Linked DNA regions of Homo sapiens: region 2 is linked to region 1. The links are contacts of gene promoters, found by promoter capture Hi-C in blood cells and fetal thymus (Javierre and others, 2016). All regions are on one chromosome and are shown on one strand. Each heading gives the region's core, a stretch centred on a gene start or on the middle of the fragment in contact. The rest is flanking DNA. Distances are from core to core; before and after follow the strand shown. Region 1 overlaps KIAA1328. Region 2 holds the start of ZNF24 (zinc finger protein 24).

Evidence for each region. Contacts are between HindIII fragments. The CHiCAGO score rates a contact against its expected background, and 5 or more counts as called.
Region 2: the fragment with the promoter of ZNF24 here is called in contact with a fragment that was not itself captured in region 1 in 1 of 17 cell types (non-activated CD4 T cells); the score reaches 7.8 in non-activated CD4 T cells.

The regions. Positions count from the first base shown.
Region 1 is chr18:36,831,571-36,836,605 of GRCh38, reverse strand. KIAA1328 reads right to left here. Exons shown (of 10, transcript NM_020776.3): 2 at 2,251-2,286; 3 at 1,230-1,372. Among named protein-coding and RNA genes, the nearest start is that of KIAA1328, 5.0 kb to the right of the region's middle. The HindIII fragment of the contact is 1,113 bases long and covers 2,223-3,335 here.
Region 2 is chr18:35,340,885-35,346,113 of GRCh38, reverse strand. It overlaps ZNF24 (zinc finger protein 24), which reads left to right and starts at 1,694. Exons shown (of 4, transcript NM_006965.4): 1 at 1,694-1,754. LOC124904283 (a long non-coding RNA gene) reads right to left here and starts at 2,060. Exons shown (of 2, transcript XR_007066337.1): 1 at 1,375-2,060. RefSeq lists a silencer at 1,467-1,636 and an enhancer at 2,317-2,376. The HindIII fragment of the contact is 2,541 bases long and covers 1,360-3,900 here.

The DNA of each region.
Region 1 (5,035 bases), core at 1,530-4,029:
TTGACTAAAGCAAATGTAATATGTATTTTGGGGTCTGTGCACATAAGTAAAATGTATGACAACAATATCAAAAAAGTCAGGAGGTGAGAAATAAAGTACAGTGTTGAAAGGTCCTTAAACTATAGGTAATGTGGGAAAATATCACTTGATAATAGGCTATGATAAATGAAAGATGTATACTATAATCTCTAAAGAAGCCACTGAAATAATCCAATCAAAAGTTATAGCCAATAGGACAAAAATATGAACTTAATCTAAAAGAAGGCTATTGTTCAATGTAAAACAAATCAACCATTATGTGAAAAAACATTTTTTAACTTTTTTTGATAAGAACTTGCAAATTCAACTATTCACACCCCAGTGTGAAGTGGGTACACTGGTACAAGTAACGTAAAGTAGGCCTTTTGATTCAATCACAGTAAAATCCTGTAGTAATAAATGAGGCACTGGAAATATCTTTGAGAACATAATTCACAGACTGAAAAAAGTTTTCTATAAAAGGTCTGATAGTAAATGTTTTTAGCTTGTGGGCATGCAGTCTCTGTAGCAACCCTGCTATTGTAACACAAAAGCAACCATAGACAATTATGTAAAACAATGAGCACAGCTGTATTCCAAAAAACCTTTATTTATAAAACAGGCAGAAGGATTTGGTCCACAGGTTATAGATTCCAGAACATTCATATACAAGTTTTGTGTAGACATCCTAGTGAGTGTGAAGTGGTATTGAACAACTCTGGTTGCAGAGGGAAAATATAACAAAAATTAAAGTAAAATAAACTGGTCAGATAGGACATGTGCCAAAGGAATGCACCGATACTATTACTATGCCTAGTCATTGATTTGTCCCTCATCTTTACGAGGGTTCATCTATCAAATAAATTCACAAGAATAAAAATCAAAAAGGATGCCTAATTAAAAAGCAATTCTCATCAGTTTGATTTACCAATGCCACACAGATCAGAATGTAGTTCTTTTGAGACATATCAAGATAATACATTATCATGGCTAATGCTTACAGCAAGTCAGATGTTTTGGAGCAAAACCCTTGAGTAATCCAGATAATTTAGGCTCAAACCTGGCATCATCAAAGGATCCTGGAATCCTCTGTATCTTTTAAGAATGTTTGTTGATCACCTAGTATACTTTCAAAGGTTCTTCTACCCTTTTTGGTCAGCACTCATAAAGACTGGAGAGCAAGGAAAAAAAAAGACGAAAAAAATACTAACCTGTTCATCTACTGAATCTCCTGTGCCTTTTAAGGACTCCATGGAGATTGAAGCATCAGTCACCCTGGAAGTCTTAAGTTTAACATCAGCTTTTGGACTCATCAGCTTGTGTCTTGATCTGACATTTCCTTCAGCAGAAATTCCTAAGGATTTCCATTAAACAAGATTTCAAAATTATACCTTATTATCTTAAACCCTCCCCCATCAACTCCTTCCTTGGAATCCTCTACTTTAAGGGACCTGATGGAGGAAACTCTCTTACTTTATAAACTTAATTTTAAAGCTCTTAATATATGAATCATAAAAAGAATATGTTTTAAAGAAATACACTAAAGATTGAATTGAAATTTGTTTTTATATTTATTTTTTTAAAGAGACAGGGTCTTCCTATGTCTATCCAGGCTGGACTTGAACTCCTGGGCTCAAGCAATCCTCCCACCTCAGCCTCTGGAGTAGCTGGAACTACAGGATCAAGCAACCACATCCAGCTTAACTGAAATATTTGTAAAGGGTACTGTAAATATTCATAAGTCACATTAAAACCAATAAATTACGATATGCCAAATATATGTTAACTTAGGGGAAATCAATGATATTTTTCACCCTATATAATGAGGGTGCCTTCAATAGTTGCTTTACTACCATCTAGTTACAACCATTAAACTTGAAGTGCCTCTTACATATACCCTGTATCAAGCAGTAGTCACACTTTTATTTGAAATATTAAATTTGGCTATCATTTGTAAAAGAAAAAATAAGAAAAGAATCTTTTGCCCCTTGCCACATGAAGTGTTCTACAAGTTCATTAAAAGCTGATTGGGCCAGCCAATCCCAAAGATAAGCCAGTATTTCAAACCTTAATAGGGTTATGACAAATATTCAAAAAAAACAAATTTTAGGTTTTGATGTACTGCTCTGCATTCAGTTATTTATACCCGCAACATTGTTCTAATAGCTTTATTTTCTTCTAACATTTAAGGACCAAAGTAAGCTTCCCAAATTTTAACATAGAAAATCATACCTGGAACGTATACTACTGATTGTTCTTCATCAGAAACTACGCAGGAGAACATGAAGGAAAATACAATAATATTATCCGGCATCCAAATGCTGCTTCTGTTCTGTATACCTCTTATAATTCATAATTTCTTTTGACCTGGGAATTTGTAACTAACTTTTAAAAACAAAGTTAGAAAGCAAAGTAATTGAATTAAAAACAAAGTTAGAAAGCAAAGTAATTGAATTAAATGTAGCAAAATTAATATTCTCTAAAAGTTCACCTTTATATATTCACAACTACACATCTTATAAAAATCTTGGAAGGTCTTGTTCCATGAAACTTTTATCCACTCTCAAGTGGGTTACCCTGCAATATATACTCTACTATTAGGTTCCTTTCCTTTTGTAAACAAAAACTTAAGTGCTCCAGTTTGGTCATTACTGAGGAACTGACAATTCTGAAGAGTAAATAATTTCAAGATAGACTTTAGCTTTGAAGAACAAACACTGAGGGCAAGTCAATCATGCAAACACAAAGACATTATTTATTCTTCTACAGTGTATTCATAAAATATCCCAAGAAGCCCTACTATTTAAAAAGTAGAAGAAATTTAAGACAAAAAGAACTATTTTGAATTTCAAAAGGAGAAATTTAGAAAGGCTATGATTATAACACACTGTTTTCAACTGTCACCTTGATCCAACTCAACTTTTCCTCTCCCAGGATTATTGCAATAAGCTCCTAACTGCTCTCTGTCACTTCTGTGCATGTTCCCTTAACAGCCTATTTTTTCACACAGTGGTTAGAATGATCATTTTAATAGTTATGTCATTTCTAATTTAGATTAAAAGCCAAAGTATTAACAACAGCCTGCAATGCTCAAGATCTGATCCCTGTAACTTGTTACATCTCTGATCTCACTTGCTACTATTCCTCTCACTCATTCCTGGCTTTCTTATAATTGTTAACAAGCTATGCAAGCTCCTACCTTATAGCTTCTGCAGGTATGATTTCTTCTACCCAGGAAGCTCTTTCCTCAAATATCTTCATGGCTCACTTTAGGACTTATGTCATATGTCATGTCATGTCACCTTCTGATTGAAGCTTTCACTTCCTAACCATATAGGTACTTGAAATTGCAAAACTCTCTCTTCCCACAACCTACCTACCTCCCGCTACTATCTGCCTCTTTCCTGCTTTATTTTTTCTCCACAGCACCAATATCATTGAACATAGGCCAGGTGCAGTGGCTCACGTCTGTAATCCCAGCACTTTGGGAGGCCGAGGTGGGCATATCACGAGGTCAGAAAATCGAGATCATCCTGGCTAACACGGTGAAACCCTGTCTCTACTAAAAATGTAAAAAAAAAAAATTAGCCGGGCATGGTGGCGGGTGCCTGTAGTCCCAGCTACTCCAGAGGTTGAGGCAGGAGAATGGTGTGAACCCAGAAGGCGGAGCTTGCAGTGAGCTGAGATGGCACCACTGCACTCCAGCCTGGGCAACAGACCGAGACTCTGACTCAAAAAAAAAAAAAAAAATCATTGAACATATATTTTCCTTATTCATGACCTGATCTCATCTCACTAAAATGTAGGCACCAAGAGGGTAATGATTTTTGTTTTATTTTGTTCAGTGTTGTACCCTCAAACATAAAAGAATGTCTGGCTCCATCTATGAAAGAATAAAATTGGTATTGATTTAATTTTATGAGGTGTTGTCCAACAACCTTATATGTTATATTTCTGTGATTCTAAATATGCAAACAAAACTTTTTTTTTTTTTTTTTTTTGAGACAGAGTCTCGCTCTGCCACCCAGGCTGGAGTGCAGCGGTTTGATCTCAGCTCACTGCAACCTCCACCTCCTAGGTCAAGCAATTCTCTGCCTCAGCCTCCCGAGTAGCTGGGATTACAGGTGCCCGCCGCCACACCTGGCTAATTTTTTTTGTAGTTTTAGTAGAGACGGCCGTTTCATCATGTTGGCCAGACTGGTTTTGAACTCCTGACCTTGTGATCCACCTGCTTTGGCCTCCCAAAATGCTGGGATTACAGGTGTGAGCCACCGCAAGCGGCCAACAAAACCTTTTACTTTCAGCTACATCCATGACAAATTTATTTTCAAATATATAAAACTCTAAACAAACTACTTCAATATTTTTAATAACAATATTTGAAATTGCCTCTATCCTTTCTAATAATTTGTAATGTATTTTCATCTCATTATATTAAGAACCCAAATATTTACCTCCTTCAAATCTAGAATTTCCCAACAAATGTATATTTTATGGGGAAGTCAAACAGACACATTATATACCAAATGTATAGTGGGCCTACTAGTGGGTCATTTCTAGATTATTTATAATACCTAAAACAATGTACATGCTATATAAATAGTAGTTAAATTGTACAGTTTAATTTGTATTTTTTTGTGTGCTATTTCTTTTTTTTCTCAAATATTTTCCATCCACATTTGAATGAATCAGCAGATACAGAGGGCTAACTGTAATTAGAAACCCAGGCAGAAGTGGTAGAGAGGAAGATGCACCTCTATCCCAGACCTCCAGGATTTGAAGGAAATAAGTTCAGTACTGCCCATTCTACTCTAATCTGCTGAGTTTTGCCAGCAATACATGTATATGTAATTATTATCAACCACAGAGACTTTCTGGGCTAATATATTATTTTTACCACAACATACAGTCTTTGTTTCCATTTGAAAACTCAACAGCAGAGATTATACTGCAATGTTTTGACCAGGTCACTTGCAGTTCATATTTTTTAATATCAAGTCCATGATATTGCTAATGG
Region 2 (5,229 bases), core at 445-2,944, 1.5 Mb after region 1:
AGACCCTGTCTCAAAAACAAAACAAACAATATAATCACAGGAAAAGGGTTTTGTAAAATTTTGCAACATTTTTAACTTCCTCAAGGTTAGGTTTCAGATTTATTATTTTTGTTTTCCAACATTAATTAGATGTAAAAACTCTTAAAACAAAAATGCCTTCAGCTAGCCTTTACAAATCAGATAAGAGGGAAAGGTTGGGAAGAGCAGCCAAGTTGCTTAGGGGCCGTATCCAAGTAGCAGAGTGAAAAGGCTGTACTTCTGAAGCTTCCTGCAATGGAGAGAAGTGTTAGCAGGGGTTGTGAGAAGAGCTCTGGTCGGAATGAAAAGCAGTGGTATACCATCAGCTGCTCGCTCACTTGCTCTCTCATGCACGAATCCAGCGGAGCCTGACGGCACTTTTCAGAGGGCATTTTCTCCAATGAGGCAAAAAGTCAAAGCCTGAGGATCTTGAAATGCTTATGTTAGGCTGGATCTACACTTTTGACCAGTCCTTAAACAACAGGGCTCCTTTGTGTGGTGTCTGATGCCAATCATGTGACCTAGCTAAAGGCAGCAATGTAACCATCCCACAATTCATTTATTTATTCAACAAATATTTATTGAGTTCTCTATTTACCAGGCAGTCAGCTTCCAGGATCTAGGATGGGATACTGTGGTGAGCAAGACAGACAAGGTCCCTGCCCTTAAGGGACTTAAAGACAAAACAAAACAAAAAATAAAACAAGTAAATAAATGAGATCACTTCCATTAATAACAGTGCCATGAAGGGTCATGCGCCATGAAAGGCAGGTGGTGAGGCTGAGGATCTTGGGCCACAATGAGCCGAGGAGCTGAGGTGACTGGGGGCGCCAGGGTCTGGGGGTGCGGGCAGGCAACAGACCACAGGGGACTTACAGGCCATTATAAGGAGTTTTTATGTCATAAATTATTATGACATAAATTGGAGGGCTTTAAATAGGGGAGTGAAGTGGTCTGATTTGTAATTTTAAATGATCGCGTCAGCAGTTGTTTTATGGTATAAAATGCCCAGCTTTAAGATGACCATGCATTCTACAAATTCACCGTGACATCACTGCCAAAACTCTTAACCTGTCTTATCTAGTTTTCCTGACAGATAAATAGGTCGGAATAAAGCTCCATGACATAACTAGTGGGAGCCAAAGATTTGAATCACGTCTTGGTTTCAAATCTTGCTACCCACAAATGAGTTGTGAGCTCTTGTCAGGTTATTTACTGTATTTGTGCCTCAACTATCTCAGCTGTGAAATGGGGATAATGAAAGTTCCTACATCATTTATTTGTGGAAAAAAAAATGACATGTAAAGCACGACGAGAGCGCCTGGCACAATGTAGTAAGCTTTCACAAACACTCACTTTCATTCCTTCTTGCAGGGGATTACTGAGAGGATCCACAAGATAATGCACGTGAAAGGGCTTGCGAAATTGTAAGGACTATCTTAATGGTAGAGTCCTCTTTATGTTTTCTTTTAAACGGTCCAGAGGACGCTGGGCTGTTCGAGGAGAGGCGCGAGGCCAAGCGCAGCCTCAATGCGGTCATTGTCGTGGGGCCGCCCCTCCCCCGCCCGGGGCGCTTCTCCATGGCAACGTGGGCTTTACCTCTCCCCGCCTCCTCAGGCCCGCAGACCGGAAGCAGCCCGCGCCGGGGGCTTCTGGGAAAAGGCTTGTGAACGGCGTTTCTGCGTCTGCCGTGGACAGCGAAGCTGCTGCGGTTCCTGAGCCGGAGGTTTGCGCCGGTGTGCGGGGAACGTTATGAGAGGGAGGGGGGACACCGGGCTAGGGTCTGCGGACCTCTTAGCAGGAGCCGGCGGGGAAGCCTGTCCGGGACCTTCCTCAGCTTCCCGGGAGGCGCGGGGAACAGGCCGCGGTCTCCGCGCCTAGCAGTTGTGGGGCGGGGAGGGGTAGGCGGCAGGCCTGCTTGGGTCTTCGGCATTTGCAGAGAGCTCTCTAACCCCCTGTGTCCTCCGAGACCCTCACCTTCCCCCTCCCCCACCGGCCGGTTTTGTTCTATTTCGAGGCCCTGGCGTCTCGCGGAGGGTTCTGGGAGTCGTGATGGGAGGGGGTGGTAGTGGGACGAGACTTGCGCGGGGCTTCTGGGATTTGTAGTCTCACCGGCCGCAGGCGGAAGTGCCGTGGTTCCGACGCTGTTGTCACAGGGTGGCCTTTGGTCATCTGAAATCCGCGGTCCTGAGTGCTGGGAAGAGGGGCTAGAGGACGTCGGGCCGGGGCCGGGGCCGGGGCCGGGATACACAGCAGGTCTATGCAGCAGTAAGGTGGGCGATCCACCTGGGACGAGGTACCCTGCCCAAACATTGTCGGGACCGTGGGCCTTCCCTCCATTTCCCACAAGCGGTATGCTCTACAGCATAAAAGGAAGAGAAAATTATGTAGAAATACTTGCACCGTTGATAAGCAGGGTCTTGGAATAGGAACGAATGAATGTTGGCTAGACCTTATGTATAAGGCCACCACACTCCAGGGTATTTAATTAAACCAGTATGTATTACTTGTCTGATAAGGCCTTTTCTGATTCTAGTCTTCATCTTGCTTGGGTTACAATAAGTTTTTTTAAGTTGTTATTGTTCAGATTTTGGGCCCTGAATAAATAAATAGGCTGAATGGCTCATTGCTAGTATGTGTCGTAAACAACAGCACGGGCATGATCGTGCAAATAATAAAGGTCCAGAAGCAGTATACAGTTTCACTGAAGGTAGAAGCTGGGGAAACTGTGAGTCCTCCAGTGTAAGGACAAGACACTGGACCACTGCAGGAAGTCAAGGTGCTTATGCGAGTGCCTTTTCTTAATAGAAGTTTCTGTGATTAATGCCTATCATTATAAATATAAATGTACGTATGGTGTGGTGGAAGACTGAATATTTACGTATTATGTGCAAGATAATTTTTCAAAATTATGTGATGTTTTTCACATATGATCTTTTCAATATTATGTGATCTGCTACTCAGCAAGTGAACATTTTTTCACATATAAGTCCAAGGAGTTCTTAAACACCTTAAAAATATTTTTTAAATGGTAAAGAAAATTTTTTTAAGCACATAATAATAAAGCGAACCTTCCTTTTGAGTTGACTTGTGTGTGTCAGGAAACACCAATCCTGAATTGGAAATAATGCGTTCCAGGGTCAGGCACATTTAGAAAGCACTGAAGTAGTCTGGTTCTTACTTGGATTCTTTTGATTATTGACATAGGGTTTGTCGTCTTAGTAGGTCATGATTGGCAAACTTTTTCTGTAAGCGGCCATATAGTAAATAAGGTCATGCATAACTCAACGATAGTGCTATGGTCTGAGAAATATGTTAGGCTATTTCATCCTTGTGTGAACGTCATAGAATGTACTTGCACAAACCTAAATGGCGTAGCCTACTACACACTTAGGCTATCTGGTATAGCCTATTGCGCCTAGGCTACAAACCGGTACGGCATGTTGCTGTACTGAATACTGTAGAGAATTGTAACACAATGCTAACTATTTGTGTATCAAAACATAGAAAAGATAAGAGTAAAATATGATATAAAATGTTTGAAAAAAAAAAAAGATATGCCTGTACAGGGCACTTACCATGAATGGACCTCGCTGGATTGGAAGTTGCTCTAAGAAGTCAGTGAGTGAGTGGTGAATTTGGAGGCCTGGGACATTATTGTACATTCCTATAGACCATATAAACACTGAACACTTAGGCTACACTAAATTTATTAAGAAAACATTTTTCTTCAATAATTAACCTTAGCTTACTGGAACTTTTTCACTTACAAACTTTTACATTTTTTTTTAACTTTTTTACTCTTTTGTGATAACACTTCACTTAAAATACAAACACATTGTACAGCTGTACAAATATATTTATATCCTTATTCTGTAAGCTTTTTGCTTTTTTTTTTTTATAGACAGAGTCTCGCTCTGTCGCCAGGCTAGAGTGCAGTGGCGCGATCTTGGCTCACTGCAGCCTCCACCTCGCGGGTTCAAGAGATTCTCCTGCCTCAATCTCCCCAGTAGCTGGGACTACAGGCGCAATCCACCACGCCCAGCTAATTTTTGTATTTTTAGTAGAGACAGGGTTTCACCATGTTGGCCAGGATGGTCTTGATCTCTTGACCTCGTGATCTGCCTGCCTCAGCCTCCCAAAGTGCTGGGATTACAGGCCTGAGCCACCGTGCCCGGCACAGCTTTTTGCTATTTTTAAATTCATTTTTTAGAGACAGGGTCATACTCTGTTGCCCAGGCTGGAATGCAGTGGTGTGATCATAGCTCAGTGGAGCCTTGAACTCCTGGTCTTTAGTGATCCTCCTGCCTCAGCCTCCTATAGTGCTGGGATTACAGGTGTGAACCATTGCACCTGGCCAATTTTTTTTTTCTTTTGGAACTGTTTTTGTTAAAAGCTAAGATAAACACATTAGCTTAGGCTTACACAGGGTCTGGATTATCAGTATCATTGCCTTCTACCTCCATATCTTGTCCCACTGGAAGGTTTTCAGGAGCAGTAACATACATGGAGCTGTCATCTCCATAATAACAGTGCCTTCTGTAATACCTCCTGAAGGACCTGCCTGAGGCCATTTTGCAGTTAACTTTTTTATTTAGTAAGTAGAAGGAGCACACTCTAAAATAATATAGTATAAAAAGTATAGTAAATACATAAACCAGTAACATAGTCGTTTATTATTGTTATCAAGTTTTATGTACCATACATAACTGTATGTGTTAAACTGGCAACACAGCAGGTTTGTTTACACCAGCATCACCACAAACATGTGAGTAATGTATTGACCTTACAACAGCTACAGTGTCACTAGGTGAATCTTGAATTTTTCAGCTCCATTATAATCTTATGGGAGCACTGTCATCTAGGTGGTCCTTCATTGACCCAAACATCATTTTGTAGTGCATGACTGTGTTGGGTTTTTTTTAGGCCATCTAGTCTGTTGAAACTACTCAACTCTGCTATTGTAGCGTGAAGTATGAGTAAGTACAATTATTTATGGACACAGTCATGTTAATTTCATATCATTTTCACGTGTCATGAGGTATTCATTTGATTTTGGGGAGCTCCATTCCCTAAATATCATTAGGTATTCATTTGATTTTAGGGATCTCCGCTCCGTAAGGCACTGTGATGAAGACCACAGCCATTTAAAAATGTGAAAATTATTGTTGGTGCAAGTGTTGTACAGAAATGGGTGGCAGGCTAGATTTG